2 separate regions of the Homo sapiens genome follow, and region 2 is linked to region 1. Evidence: promoter capture Hi-C in 16 types of primary human blood cells and fetal thymus (Javierre and others, 2016). All regions are on one chromosome and are shown on one strand. Each heading gives the region's core, a stretch centred on a gene start or on the middle of the fragment in contact. The rest is flanking DNA. Distances are from core to core; before and after follow the strand shown. Region 1 holds the start of BBIP1 (BBSome interacting protein 1). Region 2 overlaps ADD3 (adducin 3).

Region 1 (7,157 bases), core at 2,790-5,289:
TGAATCAGAATACTTTTTCTTTTTTTGTTTTTTTAAGACAGGGTCTCGCTCTGTTGCTCAGGCTAGAGTGCAGTCGTGCGATCATGGCTCACCACAGCCTTGACCTTCTGGGCTCAAGTGATCTTCCAACCTTAGCCTCCCAGGTAGCTGCGACTACAGGAACATGCTACCCCACCCAGCTAATATTTTTATTTTTTGAGACAGGGTTTTGCCGTATTGCCCAGGCTGGTCTCAAACTCCTGGGCTCAAGTGATCTGCCCACCCAAGCCTCCCAAATTGTTAGGATTACAGGCATGAGCCACAGCAGCCGGACCCTAACTTTTAATTAAGTCCCCCACATTAAACTTAAGAGAACTACTGTCATAGATTCATTCCTTCACTCACTAAATAATCAATGTCAATATGTGCCTGAATTCAATACGTCCCCTAACTGGATTGCTTTAGAAGTTATTAACTACCATAAACTGACTGCACTCCATGTGCTATAAACCGAGGTAAAGCACTTTATATATATTTGAATTAATTCTGTAACACAATCCTTAACAGTTTTAAGGCTCGTTTTAATTTTTTTTTTCTTTTTTGAGACAGGGTCTCGCTCTGTTGCCCAGTCTGGAGTGCAGTGCTGCAATCTCAGCTCACTGCAACCTCTGTCTCCCAGGCTCAAGTGATTCTGGTGCCTCAGCCTCTTGAGTAGCTGGGACTACAGGTGTGCATGACCAAACCTGGCCAATTTCTGCATTTTTGGTAGAGATGGGGTTTTGCCATGTTGGCCAGGCTGATCTCAAACTCCAGACTTCAAGTGATACACCTGCCTCGGCCTCCCAAAGTGCTGGGATTATAGGTGTGAGCCACACCTGGCAAGGCACTGTTTAATAGATTATTAATAGAGTGAGTAGGCTGTCCAAGGTCATCCAGTTATTGAATAGTCTTATTCCTGAAACCCAGGTCTGATGCTAAAACCTGTGATCTTAATTGGTATATTATTTTGCCTTACTTAAATCTGGATTATTTCCACACAAGCAAATTCCCTTCTACACAAAGGAAGCAACTAACAGAATGCACTATGTAATTTTCAATATGATGGCTAAAAACATTCTATACCAATCTAAAAAATTCTGTCCTCCCAGAGCATTTTCTTCTGCTCCCTTATGTGCAGTTTTTTCCTTTCACTTATCTTTCATGATCAAATATAAGTCTAGGCTAGGAGGAGTATACGACGTTGGCAGTCTTGAGTTTTCCCTTTGTGATTAGGAAGTAAATTCCACAAACACTTCTCTATCCATTGGGCAGAGAACGTATCTAGTGTACTAAGTGTTAAGTATAATCTTGATTTTGCAATTTTTAATAGGCTCTGCTTAATGCTACCAAAAAGCTATCATAAAAACACCAGGACCAATTAAGACTTGCATGAGAATTTCAGTGAGAAAAATAACATTGCCTAAATTGGAATGTGACCAGATGGCCAACAGTTGCCTTGGTATTTGCTTTGATAACATCAAGATTCATCTGTATTTGAATTGCAGGGCCCACACATCTTTCAACAATGTCTGCAGGGTGCCAGGAGTTGACACTCATAAACTATGCTGACATCAGTACACTTTACTGCAGAAAGTCATTGCATCAGCTCCAAGAATAGGCAAAGTAGCAGCAACACTTTATTAAAGGTAGTCAATGTTGCCAACCCAAGGCACTAACACATACTCTATACACACAGGATTAAATGCTACCCTCTTCTTTGTAGGACACTGGAGAGGGGTAAGCATGCTAAGAAGTGAGATGGATTTAACCAGCAACTCACGGCAAAGTGCGTATAGCTGCGTTTGAGAAGGCTTAGTCATGACTAGAAAAGTGTGAATACTGTGACATATCCTTGCAAAAAAAATGTTCAGCTTAAGCCTCTAGACTAACTTCTGGTTTACAAGAAGAAAAAAGAGGGGCCCATTTCCAAAAAGACTCCTGCCTTGAACTCTTCAAAATGCCAATGTCACAGGGGGAAAAAAGATGGGGGAACTCTACTACATTAAAGCTAAAGAAAAATTTTGACTGGATCCTGATTTTTTTTTTTTTTTTTTTTTTTTGCAGGATTGGGAAGGAGAAGGTATAAAAGATATTCCTGGGTAAATTAGGAAAATTAGCACTTGGCCTAGATTTTAAAAGTTACAAAACAGCTGAAATAATGATATTGTGTTTTGCTGGAGAACTTCAAAATTCTTAGGAAATTCATGCTGGAAATCTTAAGGGTGTCTTGCCTAACAATAAGTGTCTGCAACTTTTTATGACAATGAAAAAGTGGGGAGGAATGAAAAAAAATGGCAAAATGTTAACTGCTGCATATAGATGATGGGTACATGAATATTCATTAAATTATTTCTTTCAGCTTTTAAATATATGAACACTTTCATAATAAAACACTGGGGAAAAAAATCATGTCAGAAAGACTTCACAGGGGAAACGTAAAACAAAGATTGAGTAGCAGGCGCTCAGCTGAATTTCTGATAAATTGAAGGTCTCTAAAACTTGGCTGGAAGTGTCTTGGGCATCCAAGAGACACCCGATATATTCAAACTTTCAGTAAGTATTTACCAAAATAATATCATGTGCATGGTGAAAATGACGGGAAGACGAATCTGATACAAACCATTCTATTTAGGTGCAGACATGGTAGTGAAGCTAAAAACATAAGCGCTATTATATATATATAACATACTGATTGTCATAAAAGATGTACAAAAAATGCTAAACTCAGAGGAAATTACTTCCTGCTGGGAAGAATCTGGAAACACATCTCCACGGGTAACAGAATCAGATACAGAATCACAAAAGGTGACTGCTACAACAGATTTCAGTAATTAACAGCAAAGAAACAAGAGTAGTTCATTTTGGCTGGCGTGTAAGTACTAAGGAAGCAGAAATTAAGTCGAGAAGGTAGGTTTGCATCTGTATTGTTGACTGGCTGGATATTAACCATTTTCAATTTTACCTGAAAGTTCTGGTCTTTTTGCTGCAGCTTTAAGCATCCAACCCGGTATTACCAAGATGACTTAGAGTTCTTGACTCAAGCATACAGAAGAAACTACAAGATAATGTATGATAACTTTGTAAAGGGCCATATAAAAGCAATACAGTATTTTCAAAAATCTTCAACACGTTGTTTAAGAAACTGTAGACCTGCAGGAATCCCACCACCAGAACCGCAGTCAAAGCTTACAAAGACTCAAAGGAGAGACGCGGAAAGGGGGGAAAAATCAGAATGGGAAGGCAGGTGGCAGGGGAAAAAGATTGAGGTCCTGCCCTGGTGGTAGGGGCTCATCTTTTCCTTTTATAGGTGAAGGTGGAAAATGATTTTCTGAAGTTCCCGAATTCTCCTCCCTCCAAAGGCCAAGGAGTGAAAGTACTTAATAGGAACTTGCGGAGGCGTGGTCAAGAGCTCCGTTTTGCCGGAGTTAGGAGCTCCGCCCCGAGGTCCCCGCCCATTCCCCGCTGGGGTCCTCCCGGCCGGGCTGCCTCTGGCTGGGTTAGGGCGGCCTGTAGAGCGGCCTCACCCCACAGGGAGCCTCACGGGGGCGGGCCGCCGCCAGGCCAGCCCGGAAAAAAACCGCCTTCCAACGGAAGCGGCCCTGAGCCCCGCTCGCCATTTCAGCGCTCTGTCCCACAGGGACCGTCCGGCCCGGGTCCGGCCCACTGGTTGGGGTCCACGGACTCACCTCACTTTGCAACTAAGGTCAAAAATAAGCATTCCCTGGGGCACGGGCGGCCAGGCTATTAACACCCTTCCGCCATGACCCAATTCGGAAGTGCCAAATGCAACTTCCGGGCAGGAGAGGGAATTTCGGAGCCCTAAACTGTTGTCCATCTCCGTAAGTGACCAGACGTCTCAGTAAAATAAGGGCCAGGAAACTGGACGTGTAATCCGGAGTATGAATTAACTTGTCTAACATGGGATGTGTGGTCACCCACGGTACCTCTTTGGGCTTACTTACAGATGCATCCCTTCCCAGACGGCTCAGCTGTTGCCCCGGGTAACGGTGAGACTGGCGAAGGAAAAAAATCTACGTCACCCTGGAAACAGGAAGCCAGGAATCTCCTTTTGCCATTATCAGTTATGGCCGCCTTAGCTTCAACAGTAACTTCCGATCGGGGAGTTGTCACTCTACCCTGCTGGAGGCTTACTCTGTAGCCCGGCTAGCCAGAGGCGCCCAGTGGGCGGGAGACGGCGTAGAGGAACTGAGGAAAGGACAAGGGCGGAGAGAGAGAAGCTGGCGGCACTGCCCGTCTCTGATTGGGCAGCTTCTCTTGCCCCGGTTCCGCCCATTTTTCTTGCCTAGCGAGTGACGGGCCCACGGCAGAGGGGTGGGGCGGGGAGGCTGGAGCGAGAGTAGTGGCGGGGCGGGCGGGGCGGGGCGAGTGGGGGAGGGGCGGGCGGGGGGCGGCGGTTGGGCAGCGTCGCTTCTTAGGAGGAGGAGGAAGAGGAGGAAGGAGGGCGAGCGAGGAGGATGGCGGAGTCGGGGCTCCTGACGGTAACTCGGGGCCGATGAGGCGGAGGGTGTCTGTTGGTCGGTTCTTCCTGCCTGCCTTCCTGTCCGTCGGGCAGTCGGGCTGGCTGTCGGTAGGGGGAGGCCCCGTGCGCCCTGACAGGCGCGAGCCGGCAGCGCCGGGGCGAGGCCCGAGGGGCCGGGGCCCTGGGAGGCGCCGCCGCCGCCGCTTTCCTGGTTGCTGTCTCCGGGAGTGCGGGGCCCTTGGAGCCGGCTCGCGTGGGAGCCTGCAGCCCGGCGCGGAGAGGAAGGCGGTCGGGTGTGACAGCGGCCGGGGCCGGGCCTGCGGCGGCGGCGGCGGGCGGCCCGGACAGCGCCTGGGCGACGGCGAGCCGGCGCGAGGGCGCGGGCCGGGGGCCCCCGGCGGACAGTCTCTCTCCTCTCGGCTCCCTGGGCCCCCGGGCCCAGTCCGCAGGGCGCCCCGAGTCGTGTAAATCGTTGGCGAGGGCCCGGGCGCAGCGGCGGTCATACAGGGTGGGGTCTCTTCTCGCCCCCTCCCTGGAGTCCACCTTGCTCTCCCGTTCTCCTCTCCCTAAAAACCCTTGAGTGAAGAGTGCTGGATCGGCTCTGGGTGTGTTGCCTAGCGAAGCGAGTTGTAGCCCTTCGAGACCGCCTCGTAGAACATGCCCGATGGCAACCTCTCCCCGTGATAGCACAGCTTTTAGGGAGAGAGGAAAAGTAGTCTCACTCTTCCCCGACTTCCCCAGGCTCATAACACAAGAGGCTTTGGGGCAAGACGATTTTTCCCCCAGCACCTCAATATCCATTGTTTTTGTACCATCCCCCTCCCCCCATGCCTAGGTGGAAGAGTAATGACTCCAAAGCATTAACTTGCCTTTCTCTTTATTTCTTTTCTTTCTTTTTCTTTTCTTCCTTCCTTTCTTTAAGCAGGCAGTTTGTGTTATTGTGGAATTATGGATTTACAAACAGGTGGAATAAATACCGATTCGGGAGCTAGAAAGAAGATGCTTTGTGTGTGTGTTTAAGCCCTTACAGTTGGCAGTTTGATTTTTCTTGTCTGTTGCTTTGTATCGTAATGGGGGTGATGAGAATAAAAGAGGAAGCACTGTTTTGCAACCTACCCAAAGAAATATTTTCGAAGTCTCTGGGGATGCTGAAGCAAAATTAGGTTGCAGATGTGGACTGTATAGTATTTGCCTCCAGCGTGATAACTACCAGCAGTGTCTAGGCTTACACCTGTGCCATTTCGTATACTTTTCTTAGATACCGAGTGCGTCTAGTTTCTACTCAAGAGGGACTACTATATCAAAAGCTTTTTGTTACGGTTTTCAGAATCCTAAGGTACATTTGTGTAACCAAGTGTTTTTGTAACTAAATGCAGCAACACCACTGAAAAATAGTTTTAATTTTAAAGACCTCAATTTATTAGTGTACTTACTAATCTTTACCCTCATCCTCCATGCTGTGGACTGTAGAACTGTTACTGTGTACTTGAAGAGACTTAGCTATTGCATCCAATTTGTAACATTCAGTAAGGTTATATTTATAATTTGAATTTATCAAGTGTTGATGTTTTGCTGTGTGACAGTGAAAAGAATTTTAGGAATAAAGTATGCAAATGACCATTCGCCACATATGGAACTTAGACTGAGTATGATAAGCCTTTTGTCTTTATTTGGACATAAAGTATATTGTAAACTTTTTATGTAATTATAAATACACATTTGAAAAATAGACAAAAATAAACACAAAACTGAATAAAAGTTTTGTCTAAGGTTTGTAACTTTCAAATGTCTGAAATTTAATATAAAGCCAACATATAAAACAATATTGAAATCCCAGTTTCAAATTATGGACATGTCTTTAAGGGTACTGCATTTTCCCAAGGTGCTTGTTCAGTTTTATTTTTAGTTTTTAATTGTTATGGGTACATAGTAGGTTTTTATGGGTTATATGAGATATTGATACAGGCATACAATGCATAATAGTCACATTAGAGTAAATGAGGTATCCCATCATCTCAAGCATCTACCCTTTGTGATACAAATATCCAATTATACTCTTAGTTATTTTAAAATGTGCAATTAAATTTATTGAGTATGGTCACCCTGTTGTGCTATGAAATACTGGATCGTATTCATTCTGTTTTTTTATATCCATTAACCATCCCCACATTCCCCCTTCAGTTTTTGAGGAAACAGCTACATTAAAAGTTGACATTTGTTTTCTGATCGCTCATTATTAATATAATTTTTAAGTTCAAAAAATTTTCTCATAAATTATTATGGATTAAAGAGTGATATTAAAATATACATTAATAGTTTGCAGCTAGATCTTTTTTTTTTAGTTTTTAAACTACCGTATTCAGAAAGTTCATCAGAGCTGTTTTTCTGGTAGTTGTAGCAAGTAAAAGGTCATGCATCAACTTCTGAACTACAAGCCAGTTGGAAATTTGAAACATTTCATGTTTAAATAGAAACATGAAAATTACAAATTCCTTTGTCACACTTGCTGGAATTACGCCTTTAAAATGTTACTCTTTTTTCTGTGACTTGGGTCAGGGAAGAATGACTTTTCTCTTTCCACATCAGAGAGACATAAACTGGAATTCTATGTGGAATGTTTCCAAAGATGGCTTCCGAGTAGTGATTGGTATAGTTATTG
Region 2 (7,157 bases), core at 2,846-5,345, 840 kb before region 1:
TGAGTACCCTAATTTTCTTTGTAAAGACACATGACTATCCCAGCAATGCTAAAGGGAATATGCTAGAATTGAGAGAAAAATGTTTGGATGTTAACTCAGTAATTCTTATAAGTGACATGAAAACTAAAGCTTTACTTTAAGAAGTTGTGTCTGTCAGGAATTTTGAAATTTACTTTTTAATATCTGAGTAGTAGAACTAGCTATATAAATCATCTCATCAGCATTTTCAAGTTGAAATTAGGCCAACCTCCTGCCACAAGTGTTTTCGTGGACCTGGCTACTCGTGGACATTGGCTACTCAGTGTACAGCTATTAGTTGTGTAGCCTTGGGTAAAAGTGGCTTTCAAACTTTTTTCAGTATATTTTGCATCATGACCCAATCATGACACACACGAACCACTTTACATCTCTGAAATAAATCTCTCTTACAACACAGAAAATGCTATTTTCTGTTATGTTTCATTTCAAAAAATATTGGTTACAATGTACTGTCCCTTTGAACTCTGGAGGAATACAGTTAAACTTCGACTTTTACAGTTATGCTGGAGCAAAGCTTGCCAACGAATTTGCTGTTAAATATTGAAATTAGAAGATTTTTAAATAGATTTTTATTTGGAACTTTAATAGAAAATCATAGTTAATATCTCCATTAATACTCTTATCTTTTCCTAAATACATAATATAAAGAAAATGGAATATTTTTTACCAAGCCCTGTGAATCTGCCCCTCAGTCTCCTCCTTTTTACTCCAGTCTGCTATACAAGCTTTGTCTTATTTATGCATACCCTATTAGTGAGAACTAATAGACATACCATGACATGAAAAGCATTGAGAAGGCTTTTCTAGAGAACTAGATATAATGTGTCATGTACATTAGATATAGAGTGTCAGATTACCATTGATAAACCCTTTCTTTATCTTCATCACCAGAGTTGTCTCCCAGAGCTCCGTGGAATTTCCTTTCTCTGCTTTAACGTACTTTTAAAAGGTAATTTTACTAAAAAATGCATATGGTAAAAAGATGAAATAATATAAAAGGGCATGTGACAAAATGTTTTTCCCACCCTAATCCCTCAGCCCCACTCCCCAGAAGGGAATTTATTTTTCAAAAAAATGATGAGAGAGAGAGAGAGAGAGAGAGAGAGAGAGAGAGTGTGTGTGTGTGTGTGTGTGTGTGTGTGTGTGTGTGTGTGATCTACCTGAACATCTTTTTAATACATATAAAATTATACCATTATGTATCTACTCTTTTCCTTTTTTTTTTGAGACAGAGTCTTACTCTGTCACCTAGGTTGGAGTATAGTGGCGCGATCTTGGCTCACTGCAACCTCTGCCTTCCAGGTTCAAGCGATTCTCCTGCCTTAGCCTCCCGAGTAGCTGGGATAACAGCTCGGCTAATTTTTGTATTTTTAGTAGAGATGGGGTTTCACCATGTTGGCCGGGCTGGTCTCAAACTCCTGACCTCAAGTGATCCACCTGCCTCAGCCTCCCAAAGTGCTGGGATTGCAGGCGTGAGCCACTGCACCCAGCCTACTTCATTCTTTTTAATGGCTTTATAGTACTTTATTGTGTGGATGGATGTACTGTAACTCAGTTATTCCTCCTTTGATGGATATTTGGATCATTTCCAAGTTAGTTCCCATCCCCTCTCCATCAGACGTACTTATGCTATCAGTCTTCTCCTACCTCCGTTTTGGGATAGAACCCAGAACTGGGGTACTATAGGGAAGGTATAATAGTGCTGTGTGGAAATAGAAAATTCCCTTACCAACTTCTATGTATCAGACTAGGGCTCCAAAACTAGGCCGCACTATCCCAGGCATTCATGGGTCGGGGTGGGTAAGAACTGCCCCAGGAGGAAGTCATTTCTCCTCAGAGCAGTGAAAGAACATTGGGTTCAAAGTCGGGTAACTTGGGTGTGGTATTGGGGTGGGTCACCTGACCTCCTTGAATCCTCAGTTTTACCATCTATAAAATAAGAGATTGAAATAGATGAGTTTTAATGTCCCACCCAACTTCAATATTTATGTAGTATTTTTGTTGGAATATTGATTTAAACTGGATAACCCAAATTATATGAAGTTTCTCATATTTAAATTAAAAACATCTATTGTATATATTGTGTGGTCTGTAATTTATTTGACCTTCCATGTGGCCTAAGCTATTTTAAAGTTTAAGAATGTAAAAAAGGAAAGTTGAATATCATTCTATATTTTACATAAACTATCCTTTTCTCAAAAGTCAATTTCAAAAGTATAAAACCCATTCCAGAATTAAAAGCAAATCCTTTTTATCAAGCTTGAATATTTGAGGAGGAAGATTGTGAAGTTATGTTTGTTTTTAAAATGGATCCTTATAATTTTTCAGTGAGTCCGACCATTCAGAAGTAATCCTAGGGCTTTGAAACTTGGCTTCAGGTTTCTTGTTTAAACTGTTTGCACATTCTAGCCCTTTAATCCATCTCCTTGTTTCGTTAAATGCTAAAACTGACATTACTTAACATAATTAAAGTTTTCAGATTTGATGCTGAGGAAGCTGCTTTAGAGGTGAACTATATCCTGCCAGCAAAGTTACAAAGTTACATGGCAAAGTTATAAAGTAACAAAAGCAGTATTTTTGCTGTATCACACATAGGATATTTAGCATTGGGTAGCATTACCTGTTTCACAGTTTTAGTTTCATAATTCAATCAAATGACAGCTGTTCTAAAGATAAAATGATGTAAGGACTTCAATTGATTTGTGTAATTACAACTGGAAGATAAAAGACATTTTCTTGGCCAATAAGGTAGGAGAGAGAGTTTGTATGTTTGTGTGGTGGTTACCTTAGTTTCTTTGCAGAAGGCTTAATATACCTTGAATATACTTTTCTATAATCTGAGATATTATTATTATTCAAATAATGCTAGATAATTATTAGTGTTCCTTGTTAATTTTCATACGCATTTTTTGACATACAATTCCACTTAGCAAAATGTATCGAAGACCTTCTAGCAGCCAAGCACTGAGTTAAATGCTAGGAGTACCTAGGTAACTGAGACAGTCTTGCTTAGAATCCTCTAAAATGACAACTGCTCCTGTTCCTTGCGTTGTTGGAGCTTTCTAATATCCACTGGTGATTGGAACTTGGCAAAAAATATATATATATTTAAATTCGAATCTGTGAAAATAGATGAAAAGTATGTTTTCAGTGTTTAAAAAGAAGGTCTTAATGTCTTAGTACAGTGTCAGTTACTTTGGAGGCACACTCTTCTGTATGAGGCTCTGCTGGTGACACCAGTTTCTCACTAATTGAACTCTAAGTAATGCTGTGGTGCTTGGACTAATTAATTGAGGCTAAATTTTTGTCTACTAAAACGTATCTGATGTATAAAAAACTGTTGGAATTATTGTGCTTCACCTATTATGATTTTTTAACAATTGCTTATATGAAACCACGCTTGAAAATGGTCACCCTCTGTTTTGAAGATACATCCTGATGGCTTCTTTGTCAAATTACCCCATCCATTGTGGCATGTATAACTAAGGAAATTCTTCATAGTTAGAAATATACAGGATGCTGCTGTCTACAGGATGTTGAACAAACTTTGAAGCATTTGAAGCCATTTTAGGAAAACAGTCCTATGGTGGCAAAATCAGTCAAATAGATTGTAGTTTGAGCTGAAACAGACATTTTAAACGAGAGAAGGGGAAGTCTCATTACCCTGGTCTGTTACGCAGTCCCAGAAGGCACTGCTGTTTCTGCTTTGGAGCCCAGCATTTGGCTAGGGTCCTGTGACACACAGTGGGAATTCACTTCCTATCAGGAAATGCTGTTTTTCAATGTATTATCTTGCTGAGACAACCACAGTGAACAATAGGCTATTAACGTTTTAGAACAACAAGTGTCATGACTAAGCCAATATTTGCTTTGTTTTGAGTATCACTCTAAAAAAAAACTTTGGCTGAGCTTCAGAATACATTTGACCATCAGTAACTGTTGGGCATAAAAGTCATGACAGTTAAAAAGATCAGAAAAAAAATGCTTTAATAGTGGTTATGACCTTTTGCAGGCTTAGCTTACTCTACACACTTCCTGTCCTTAGATGAGAATGAATTATTTTAAACATACCTTTTGGGTATGAAAAATGTCCATTTAAAGACCTATTTTGAGTTTTGGAAGCCATGAATTCAAGTTCTGTAAAACATTAAACTGTCTTACGAGATAGCTTATTCGGTTTACTTCTCTCCACAATTATTAATAAACTGGAAAGTCCTTAAGGGCAGGAATCAGAGCTGTGCCTTAAATAGTCTTTATAACCTTTTTCTAACACCTGAATTAGCATTTGCTGATTGATTGGATCAGTAGTTTCTTTGGTGTTTGAAGATAACATTTTTGTATCATTATTTGTACGTGGTCTCAAAACATGGCGGTAAATATAGATTTTTAGAAATTGCTCTTTTTATGTATGTATTTACTTATTTTAAGTATTTCCAGATACCGATAATGCTCTTCTCATATCTTCACACTTTTTTTGTGTAATTACTTTTCAGTCAGCTTAAGACATTTCATATTCAGGTCACAATATTCATTACCTCAACCATCTTGGATACTTGGCCAGTCTTATCAAACCACGAATAGCCCAGTTTTCAGAGTTTGCTCTAGAATCCCTGTCCTGGTTTATTCTAAGACAAGTAGAGAATGGGGGTATTATGAGTCAAGAGCCTTACTCACCTCAGTGAGTTAATAAACCCTTATTGAGTAACTCTAAGTGGACAGTAAAGAAAGGAAAAAATGTTGACCCAGTTACTTGGAGCCAACAGACATACTCAGATAATTAAAAGGCAATACAGACTATGACAAAGTGATTTGAACACTAAGGTTGCGGGGAGAGCTAAGATGGAGGAACTTAGGAAAGTCACCATGGAAGGGGTTGGCTTTTGAATAAGAATTCAAAGTATGGACAAATATTGGATGGACGGATGGAGATGAGAGGGGAAAACAGTCCAAATGTATGAGATATGGTGAGCATCCTGGCTAACACGGTGAAACCCCGTCTCTACTAAAAATACAAAAAATTAGCCGGGCATAGTGGCTGGCGCCTCTAGTCCCAGCTACTCGGGAGGCTGAGGCAGGAGAATGGAGTGAACCTGGGAGGCGGGGCTTGCAGTGAGCCGAGATCGCGCCACTGCACTCCAGCCTGGGTGACAGAGCAAGACTCCGTCTCAAAAAAAAAAAGAAAATAGAAGAAGAAGTATGGTGAGCAAAGCAACAATCGGGGATGGCTTTTTTTTAGGAAGAGTCATTTCCCTCTAAACCTAATTAATAGGGATGGACTTTGAAGTCTTTCCTATCGTTTTTTCAGGGCCTGAATTTTAGAAGCCCCAGGCTGATAGCTAAGTATTTTTTAAAGATGGGACTTCCTGGATGCTTTTTTATTTCCTTGGGGCAGGGACTGAGGAAATGGTGTTTTTGGAAAACTATAGTAGTTGGCTTTGTGCTTCTTTGTTGCAACCAAGGATCCCAGGGTTGTAGTACTCTTACTACCTTTTAAAGGTTTAAAATAACACTTTCTAGCACTTTACAACTTGACAGAACCTTTCCTAGACAATAGAGATCAAAAGTAGACACAAAATATTTACCAAACTCTGGAGAGCTACTTAAGTTACTAAGCTCCTCATAGATAGCTTTTTATTTGACAATAAAGTACTTGATGTAGGCTTTAAGTACAGCTAAATAGACACTATAGAACTAAGCTGTGAGTCTAGTCTTTGTGAGCCTCAGAAAAACAAGAGTCCTACTTCAAGCTGGAATTTAAAATATAGCAAGCAATTTCAGTGGACCTTTTAGGCATGTGTGAGTGGGCACAAAAAGCTGAGTCATGAAGTTTACTCTTCCTGGTGAATTACCATGAAAGCTTGAAAGAAAAGCACTCTCATTATTTTAAAATAGTAAAAATTGTTTTAGATTCTTATGGAAATAACACCAACAAAATGTTTTGTATATTAATCATGAGCACATACCTAGAAACCCTTTAAAATCAAGAAATTGTAACATGAGGCATTACCTGGCTTTTTAGAGATAAAAGTTAACAGTTTATTTAATGTACAGTAGCACCTGAAATGTGCTTAAAATTGTGCTTACCAAAATCTTTAGTTAAATAAATTTCTAAGTGCAGTTCATGTTTTAAATTTTTCTTATATGAACAGATCATATGGTCTACAGTCTTATGTATCTCATTCTAATGTAGATAAAGTGAAAAGTATTGGGTAAGATAAATTGAGGGACTTGGGACACGTCACTCTCTCTCTCAGGATCTGTTCTACCTTTCTCCATATGAGAAATGAGGTAGAATAAGATTTGATAATATCTTACATCCTTTTAAGCTCTAACATCTTTAAATTCTAAGGATAGTATTCCTCTTTTGGCTCTCATTAGGTAATATCAGGGAAAACAACTCCTCTTGTTGGAAGAGTTCTTATTTATATTTACAAAGCAATGTTGTTTCTCTACAATCCTAACAAACGTATGAAAGTTATTCTTTGTTGTTTTAAAGTCTGCATTTCTGTTGTTTTTGATAAACTTTCCTCCATAAATTAAATAGTTAATTAGTTTAATGTTTTCTCTTTTTCCTGAATTTGATATTAGACTTCTCAGGTCTTTTTCCAGATTTTCTCACTTTTTATTGAGAGTTCAGTTTCCAGCAGTGGACTGGAGACTTGGGTTGTTGTCTCTTTATCTTCTCATTATTTCCAGTTTCTTCATGTTAGAAATAATTTTAATTCCCCCCCATTTTTTGATATGAATTAGTTTGGTGTCATAAAATATCAATGTATACATACATTTTTAGAATTCTTGTTCATATCAACTAGGCCTACTTTTCAAAGCTAAATCCTGTTTTATCAGGAAAGAGCCTAGACCTCTTTAAATGCACCCACAAGCTTGCATGGCAGTTAATGTCCAACACAGTTCAAAATGAAATAATGGGGCATATATAATCTGGAGACCAGGATCTAGAGAACTTTTTCTAAAGTTCATAATTATAGTTTAGATTACACTTTGTTGAAGATTTAATTTGGTGAATACCCAGGGGATTTTACTGACTGGAATCCAGGTAAACAGTCAGGAGCAGATTCCCAGAAATGGGCAATAGGAATGAGTCCAGGTATGTGAACAGT

What was found. The method cuts DNA at HindIII sites, captures the fragments that hold promoters and counts their contacts. A CHiCAGO score of 5 or more calls a contact.
Region 2: a fragment that was not itself captured here is called in contact with the fragment with the promoter of BBIP1 in region 1 in 1 of 17 cell types (neutrophils); the score reaches 5.4 in neutrophils.

What each region holds. Positions count from the first base shown.
Region 1 is chr10:110,915,141-110,922,297 of GRCh38, forward strand. It overlaps BBIP1 (BBSome interacting protein 1), which reads right to left and starts at 4,040. Exons shown (of 4, transcript NM_001195305.3): 1 at 3,981-4,040; 2 at 2,981-3,073. The coding sequence starts at 3,017. SHOC2 (SHOC2 leucine rich repeat scaffold protein) reads left to right here and starts at 4,464. Exons shown (of 9, transcript NM_007373.4): 1 at 4,464-4,517. RefSeq lists silencers at 3,374-3,533, 4,384-4,823, 4,834-4,923 and enhancers at 3,665-4,204, 3,894-4,093, 4,114-4,163. The HindIII fragment of the contact is 2,602 bases long and covers 3,202-5,803 here.
Region 2 is chr10:110,078,310-110,085,466 of GRCh38, forward strand. All of the region lies in intron 1 of ADD3 (adducin 3), which reads left to right. Among named protein-coding and RNA genes, the nearest start is that of ADD3-AS1, 74 kb to the left of the region's middle. The HindIII fragment of the contact is 3,598 bases long and covers 2,297-5,894 here.